Linked DNA regions of Homo sapiens: region 1 is linked to region 2. Evidence: promoter capture Hi-C in 16 types of primary human blood cells and fetal thymus (Javierre and others, 2016). All regions are on one chromosome and are shown on one strand. The core of a region is centred on a gene start or on the middle of the fragment in contact, and the rest is flanking DNA. Distances in the headings are between cores, read along the strand shown. Region 1 overlaps TNS3 (tensin 3). Region 2 holds the start of LINC00525 (long intergenic non-protein coding RNA 525).

Region 1 (4,477 bases), core at 1,127-3,626, 230 kb after region 2:
GCTCTGGCTGAACATGGAAAAGCCCTTGGAGGGGAGGAAGTGCCTGCTGATTGGTCCATGGGCGGCCATGGGCTGGCTGGAAGAGGCACCATGAGTCCCCACTCCAGTCTGTGGGACTGGCAGCCCGTCCCCAGCCTACAGGCCCTCCCTGGCCTGAAGGTGGGGCCTTACTGAGGACCCACCCCCTTCTGCCCAGGACTTTGCCTACCGCTGCCATTCAAGGCCCTGGTACTTGTCCCCAATCCCGCTCTGAGATGAGAGGTGGGGGGCCGGGAGAGGAGACAGGCCAGGCAGCCAGAATAGACACTCCTGAGCCAGCAGGGATGGTGGGCGGGGGGGGGCTTCCCATGCGCCCGAGGGTGCAGGCCGCAGAGATGCCTGGGTGCTGTGCCTGGGAGGGTGGCTGCAGCTGCCTGCACTCAGGGAGCTCCTGCTTTTCCCCAGCTCCCGCCTGTGTGGTGGAGTGGGAGGCCCAGGTCTGCAGCCGTGGATGGTGGCTGCAGCTGCACCCCGGGGGGCAGATCCTGCCTGCTCCTGGCCCCACTCAAGAGCGCAGGGAGGCTTGGATCTACAGCTGCAGTTTGGGCAGCTGCAGTGGCACCCAGGGAGTTCCCACCCCAACTCAGAAGGGGTGGAGCTCCCACCGGCTCCATGGAGAGTGCAGCCCCAGCCTCACCTCCCTGCTGCAGCCAGCGTGATGGTAGCAACCGCTGTCATCAATAGTATATTTCCTTTTCTTCTTTCCTGAACTTTGTGCTATTTTTTCAGAAAATTTACTTTTACATATGTCACATGTCACATTACACTATTGTTTAAACAGTTAATTATCTTTTGGTGAGCTTTAAATAATAAGAAAAACTCATAAATTTACCTGTGTAATTAGCATTTCTGGTGCTCTTCATCTGTTGGTGTAAAGCCATAATTCCATCTGCCATGTCCTTTTTGCCCAAGCACTGTCTTTAATATGTCATAGGTGTCAGCTGGTGATGATTTTTTTTGGGCTTTAATTGTATATCTTTTTTTGCATATTTTAAGAAGTTTTTGGTTCACTTTTATTTTGAAGAGCTATTTTTATTGGGTACAGGATTCTAGATTGACAAGTTTTCTTTCAGTATTTTGTTTTATTCTATTTTGTTTATTTTTTTAACTTTTAGATTCAGGGTACATGTGCAGGTTTATTATATAGGTAAATTGTGTGTTGTGGGGGTTTGGTGTACAGATTATTTCCTCCTCCAGGTAATAAGCGTAGTACTCGATAGGTAGTTTTTCAATCTTCACCCTCCTTCCACCCTCCACCCTCAAGTAGGCCCTGGTGTCTGTTCCCTTCTTTGTGTCCATCTTTCAGTATTTCCTATTATACTGCTGTCTTCTCACTTATATTTTTTAAAACAATGAGAAACCTGTTATCCTATTGGTTGGTTCCCTGCATGTAATGTGTCTTTTGGCCCCGTGGTTGTTTTTAAGATCTTTCTCTTTGTTACTGGGTTTAAGCAATTTGATTATTGTATGCCTTGGGGTAGTTCCTGTCACATTTCTTGTGCTAGAAATATATATATATATATATATTTTTTTTTTTTTTTTGAGATGGAGTTTCACTCTTGTTGCCCAGGCTGGAGTGCAATGGCGCGATCTCGGCTCACTGCAACCTCCACCTCCTGGGTTCAAGCGATTTCCTGCCTTAGCCTCCCGAGTAGCTGGGATTACAGGCACCACCACCATGCCCGGCTAATTTTTTGTATTTTTAGTAGACACGGGGTTTCACCGTGTTGGCCAGGCTGGTCTGGAACTCCTGACCTCAGGTGATCCACCCGCCTCTGCCTCCCAAAGTGCTCGGATTACAGGTGTGAGCCACCGAGCCTGGCCAAGAAATTTCTTGAGTTTCTTGGATCTGTGGGTTTATAGTTTTCCTCCTGGTTTGAAAAAGTTTCAGCCATTATTTTTTCAAATATCCCCCCTTCCCTGCCCTTCTCCGTCAGTCTCCATTACACATATGTTATGTTGGTTAAAGTTCTCCCACAGCTTACTGATGCTTGTTTATTTGTTTATTTAGGTTGTCTCATCTCTGTGTGCTTTGCGTTGGGAGGTTCGTACTGTGATGTCTTCAAGTTCATTCACCTGTGCTTCTGCAGGATCTAATCTGCCAGTAATCGCATCCAGTGTATCTTGCACTGTATTCTTACATTTTCCTCAATGAATGTTTGATTTGGATCTTTTTATGTTTTTCAGATCTCTACTTAACTTTCTAGCATATAGAATAGTTATTATGATGGACATTTGGGTTATATAAAGCTGTTATGACCTTTCTTTCTCTTGTGGACATAGGCTTTTATTTCTCTTTAGTGTAAATAAGAATGGAATTGCTGAGTCATAGGTTAGGTGTATGTTTAAGTTTATAAGAAATTGTCAAACCATTTTCTAAAGTAGTTGTACCATTTATTCCACATTCTAAATACCATTTCATCTTTTCAAATAAATTTAATTATTCCAGTGGGTGAGTAATGGCCTCACTGAATCCATATGGATATTAAGTACTGATAGAATACACGGTCACATATCAGCAAATAGACATGATTAGTGCTTGACTCTAAAAGCAAATTGAATTCTTATAAGGTTATCATATAGCTGAGAGCCTTGGCTCTACAAACATGAATAGGTAGCTGAGTGGTTAGTTTTTCCAAGTGCTAATGCTTGTAATTGTGTTTGAGGAAGAACCACATGTGTATCACAGGCTGGACTGTCTCTTCTTCTGCAGGAGAGCTCAGAGAGGCTCAAGAGCTTAATGGTGATTCTGGAACACCTTTGAACCAGGAAAGCCAGTTGACTTCCTCATAACATAATTATGCTGTTTAGCTAATTACTTTTTCCAGAAGAAAAAGGGTTGAGAGTCTAGAAGTGTATGTGGATTACTTTGTCACAGAAGTAGGTGGCTCTACGGCTGAAGTCTGGAAGGGAGTGCATTTTCACATAATGATGTTGGTTGATGTAATGTTTCTAGGCACCCCATGTGGTGATTGATGAGTTGGGTGAGAGTGAACGTCCGTCTAGGACTCTGGAATTGGGAATGCTAACATGGTATCCGTGGGTCGTCTTGGGAATTTTAGCATCACCAAGATGGTTTCTTGTTCTCTGTTTGCTTGGTAAAATTCCTGTTTTTGCTCTTTACAATTCCACTAGATTTATTATTTCCCTTAAATGAAAAGGAAAAAGAAACAAACTATGAGATGAAACGTTGACAATTTCTTCCTTTACTTTTTCAGCCGGAAGAATTAACCTCGAGTCTGCACGCTTTTAAGAACAAGGCCTTTAAAAAATCCAAAGTGTGTGGAGTTTGCAAACAAATTATTGACGGTCAAGGTATTTCATGCCGAGGTAAGTCTGTGTTTATGATTCTCTCACTGATTAATCCAGAGCAAAACAAACAAGAAACAAAACGAAAACTTTTTTTCAGGAGTTTCCGAAAGTTAAATCATGGAATTCCCCTTCTTAGTTTATATGTCCCCCAACCCCCTACCCCCTTACTTAGCAGGGGCCAACCGTATTTACATAGATAAGTGCTCATGAGGACATTTTTACAGAAAGAGCAGAGTTTCCCGATGGGAGAGGAGGCAGCAATTTGTAAATTAATCATTTATTCTCAGGTCTGCTCTGAAGTGTCAGTAACTCAGGTTGTTTAGTTTGACTTTCAGATCTGTTACTCAAGTTTGCGAATGAAATGTTTCTATCTTTAGATTTCGGGTTCATTTTGGTATGGCCCCTTTCAGATCCTGTCACTAAACTAAGCCACCAGCTTGGGTACCAGATATTTAGACGTCAAGTAATGAATGGAACTTGCCAATTCTTTTGTGACTGCACATTAATAAATCTAGTAAGAGAGGTGTGACTGTAATGAATGTGGGAGTGGTGGGGGGCAGGGGCTGCTTGGCGGACCAGTGGGGTACACCACACAGAGGGAGTCACTAGGAGGACCAGGTCCTTGGAGAGTGCGGGGGCTGCTCTTTGGCATCATTTCATCTGCGGGGTTGGGGATTTCCTCTAGAAAATGTGCAGAGTCTCAGCCTGTGGGCTTCTGTGCTGTTAGGACCTCCCCCTCAGTGCCTCCTTCCCTGCAGACCCCCAGCAGATGGTCCCTGATGGCCACTTTAGAGTAGGGTGCCTGTGATGGAACGATGCACGCAGTCAAACCTTAATGGGTTGAGGATGTGACCAGGGGCCTCTAAGGGGCTCTTGGGATTCTTTTACAGTTCAAAGGCCTGAGTGTGGGTGAGAAGACTGGGGTGCCCCTCCTCTGATTCGGCCCCTTGGAGAAGTCAGTGCTGAAGAATGTGTTGGATGAGTGGTGGGTACCGGCCACCCTGGTCGCTAAGTAGAAGCCAGAGACCAGGGAGCCACCTGTGTAATTCATCTAGATCTGCATCCAAGGCAGAGAACACGGGCTGTAGTGTACTCTGAGCCAACTGATAGGACATCCTGTGATTCA
Region 2 (4,531 bases), core at 477-2,976:
CACTGGGATGTGTCTGGCCAACTGGGAAGAGTCAGGTAGCTCAAGGCCTGGAGATTCTCATCAGGGAGAGCACAATGGGGCCAGGCCTATAGCTGAGGTCCAGGCACAGAGGCTGGGCTATGAGAACCAGTGTCCTCAGTGACTGCGACAATGACATGTCCTCTGTCACCACCTGCTACCGTGAGGCCCCAGCCCCGGCTGACCTGTAGACTCAGATCTGGGCCTGAGAGGGAGGCTTGACTTCAGCCCCTCTCATGAACAGAATCCACAGCACCAGGGCTGAGAGTGGTGGCAGGGCCCAGGAACAGTGATATCCAGTAGAATAAGTGTGACCCACCCCAGCCCCCCACAAACCAGAGGGAGTGCTGAGCACCTCCGCCCAGCCTCAGGCAGCTGACTTCACTAAAGGAGGCCAAAAGGAAAGAAAAATGTGACAAGTGTGTTTTGATGGCTGATGCGCAGGCTCCCAGAGAACCTTCAGAAATCAGGTGGGAGTTGGAAAGATTTTTGAATTGTCCTCCTGCAATAGCATGTTGAAGAAAAACTAGCTAAATATACTTTATGTGTAATTCCATGTCCATATGCATGATTTCTTAGGTGGCAACCAAAGGCAAGGAGTTCCTGTGCAAATGGTATTGCCAATATTAAGGTTCTCAATACAGTATATATTTTGTTGTATTCATTTGCTAGGGCTGCCAGAACAAAGTTCCACAAATTGGTTGCCTTAAACAACAAAAATGCATTGTCTCACAATTTCTGGAGGACAGAAGTCTAAGATCAAGGTGTTGGCAGTGTTGTTCCTTCTAAAGGCTGAAGGAGAATCTGTTGCAGGCCTCTCTCCTTGGCTTGAGGACAACCATCTTCTCTCTGTGTCTCTTCCCATCATCTTCCCTCCAGGCATGTCTGGGTCCAAATTTCCCCTTTTTATTATTTTTTATGTATTTATTAATTTTTTTTTTGAGATGGAGTTTCACTCTTGTTGCCCAGCCTGGAGTGCAATGGCGCAATCTCGGCTCACTGCAACCTCTGCCTCCCGGGTTCAAGCGATTCTGCTGCCTTAGCCTCCCAAGTAGCTGGGATTACAGGTGCCTGCCACCATGCCCAGCTATTTTTTTTTCTTGTATTTTTAGTAGAGATAGGGTTTCTCCATGTTGGCCAGACTGGTCTTGAACTCCTGACCTCAGGTGATCCACCCACCTCGGCCTCCCAAAGTGCTGGGATTACAGGCATGAGCCACCATGCCCAGCCAAATCTCCTCTTCTTTATAAGGACACCGGTCATATTGGATGAGTCATATTGGATTACATGCCCACTCTACTCTAGTATAACCTCATTTTAATTTGATCACATTTTCAAAAACCCTGTTTCCAAATGCAGTTGCATTCTGAGGTACTAGGGGTTAGGACTTGGACATAGACATTTTGGGGGACACAATTCAACCCTTATTTGCCAAATCACTTTTTAGAATGATTAAGGCAATTAATGATCTTCTTAAAGTGAAGAAACAACCCACAGAATGGGAGAAAATATTTGCAAACTACCCATCTGACAAGGAATTAATAACCAGAATATATAAGGAGCTCAAACAACTCAACAGGAAAACATCTAGTAATCCAATCAGAAATCAAAATCTAGTAATCCAAATAAAAAATCAGAAATGAATAGATATTTCTCAAAAGAAGACTTACAAATGGCAAACAGGCATATGAAAAGGTGGTCATCGTCACTGATCATCAGAGAAATGCAAATCAAAACTACAATGAGATATCTCACCCCAGTTAAAATGGCTTTTATCCAAAAGACAGGCAATAACAAATGCTGGTGAGGATGTGGAGAAAAGGGAACACTAGTATATTGTTAGTGGGAATGTAAATTAGTACAACCACTATGGAGAACAGTTGGGAGGTTCCTCAAAAAACTAAAAATAGAACTAGCATATGATCCAGCAATCCCAGTGCTGGGTCTATACCCAAAAGGAAGGAAATCAGTATATTGAAGAGATATCTGCACTCCCATGTTTGTTGCAGCACTGTTCACAATAGCTAAGACTTAGAAGCAAATTTACAGTCCATCAACAGATGAACAGATAAAGAAAATGTGGTACATATACACAATGGAGTACTATTCAGCCATAAAAAGAATGAGATCCTGTCATTTGCAACAACATGGATGGAACGAAACTGGAGGACATTATGTTAAGTGAAATAAGCCAGGCACAGAAAGACAAACATCACATGTTCTCACTTATTTGTGGGATCTAAAAATCGAAACCATTGAAATCATGGACATAGAGAATAGGAAGGATGATTACCAGAGGCTGAAAAGGATAGTAGAGGACTGGGGAGATAAGGTGGGAATGGTTCATGGGTACCAAAAAAAAAAATAGAAGAATGAATAATACCTACTATTTGATAGCACGACAGGGAGACTATAGTCAATAATAATTTAAGTGTACATTTTAAAATAATTAAAAGTATAATTGGATTGTTTATACCACAAAGAATAAATGCTTGAGGGTATGGATACCCCATTCTTCATGATGTGCCTATTTCACATTGCATGCCTGTATTAAAACATCCCACGTACCCCATAAATATATACCCCTACTGTGTACCCACAAAAATTAAAAATAAAAAATTTTTTAATCTTGTCAACAGTGTATTAGGACATTGTGTTGTTGCAATTTCCTTAGCATCAAGTTCCGTCTTTAAAAAAAAAAAAAAAAAGCTTACTGATAGGTTTTTAGAGCCTGGTAATTCATTCTTTTTTGTTTTTTGTTTTTGCTCCGTTGCCCAGCCTGGAGTGCAGTGGCACAATCTGGGCTCACTGCAACCTCCGCCCCCTGGGTTCAAGCAATTCTTCTGCCTCAGCCTCCCAAGTAGCTGGGATTTTAGGTGCCAGCCACCACACCCGGCTAATTTTTGTATTTTTAGTAGAGATGAGGTTTTGCCATGTTGGCCAGGCTGGTCTCAAACTCCTGACCTCAGGGGATCCACCCGCTTCAGCCTCCCAAAGTGCTGGGATTACAGGCATGAGCCACTGTGCCCGGTCGGTAATTCATTCTTAAGTAAACTGGCCATATATGAATTGGCCATTTGAGTTCTTTCACAAAATATAAGACTATTTCCCCCCTTACAGTAGCTATTGTTGAATAAGATGCCAAGAAGGACAGCCAGCAATAGAGAATCAGTGCACAGATGCACTGGCAGGATTACCGGGTACATCTCCACCTCACTAACACCTTCTAGAGGTCACCATGAGCGTGGTGGGAAGCAATTTAGAATCAGAAGCACAGGGGTTCAAATCCCAGCTCTGGGACTTTCTAAATGTGCTCTTTTTCCAACTTTTTGAAGCCTGTATTATCTTATACGAAAAATCTTATCCTCTTCACCCAACTTTTCAAGGATTAAAAAATCCTCACATGGCATATTGCTGCACCACACTCTGTGGTGCATTATGGATGTCCAGTAAGGTGCATGGACCCTAAAGCTGCTCTGAGGACCAGATTCTCCCCATGGAGTAAACAGGCCACAGGTTGTTAAGGGAACCAGATGCTCGTGAACAACAGACCATTCATATGGATTAGCGAGTTTCTGCAAGGAAGAAGAGGGCTTGATCATCTCATTATTTGTTTCATGTGTCAGAATTGAATCACAGTGGAGCATTCATTGACCTAAAATTAAATTACTTGTCATATTTTTTATTCAACCATTTCCTCCTTTCCTTGGTAAATATAATTTTTTCTCATTCTAATGAAGCTCCTTGGAAACATCAAATCACTGCTTTATTTTAATCAGAGTAATTAACCAGTGATGGATGAGGCACAGGTAGCACGTGGATTTGGTGGGGGAATCTTCAGTAAGCAAAGGGTGGTGCCAGGGTGGCTTTACATTGGTCCCTGGAAGAGTGGTGAAGTTGTGCCCACACCCCGAAATGTGTAAGATCAGCTGTGACCCCTGGTGGAGCAAGAAAGCAAGGCTGTGAAAAATATAAATTGTCTTATCATTTTCTTAGAAACAAAAGACAACTCTAACTCAATAATTACCTTCTGTGTATCTATTCTCTTAGAAGTCAAGGAAAACCCTATCTATAGAATTTATCTCATCATCAGTTTATCCTCATAAAATAGATTCTTTCAAATCAGCCCCACTTCCAATTTTGAAATGGATCTTACCCCTATTCAGATAAAGTCTGAGTTCATTGTGCACCTTCACCTTTCTGTATGTAGGTCTTGGTCACACCAATGGACGCGCCAGGCCCAGGCTGTGGGTGCTTCCTGGGCTCTCTGTCTGTCACTTCTCCTGAGCCCTAGAGGAACACTGCACCCAGCTGCAGCTTTTCATATACCCCTGCACCCCCAGGGCACGGCCCAGAGGGAAACTTGACTCTTTGGCTGCTTCAGTGTATCTGGCCTAAGACCAGAGCTCCTGCTTTGGCGATCAGTCATCTACACACCAAGGTCCCTGAGATCTTGCCATTTTTCTAGAGTACTCCCCAGAGAGCAGGACTCAGAGGCCCAACCTCAGGAGAC

What was found. Contacts are between HindIII fragments. The CHiCAGO score rates a contact against its expected background, and 5 or more counts as called.
Region 1: a fragment that was not itself captured here is called in contact with the fragment with the promoter of LINC00525 in region 2 in 3 of 17 cell types (total B cells, naive B cells and M0 macrophages); the score reaches 10.0 in total B cells.

What each region holds. Positions count from the first base shown.
Region 1 is chr7:47,527,928-47,532,404 of GRCh38, reverse strand. TNS3 (tensin 3) reads left to right here. Exons shown (of 31, transcript NM_022748.12): 2 at 3,258-3,369. Among named protein-coding and RNA genes, the nearest start is that of TNS3, 52 kb to the left of the region's middle. The HindIII fragment of the contact is 5,206 bases long and covers 1-4,477 here.
Region 2 is chr7:47,758,671-47,763,201 of GRCh38, reverse strand. It overlaps LINC00525 (long intergenic non-protein coding RNA 525), which reads right to left and starts at 1,726. Exons shown (of 3, transcript NR_038407.1): 1 at 1,689-1,726. The HindIII fragment of the contact is 4,383 bases long and covers 1-2,729 here.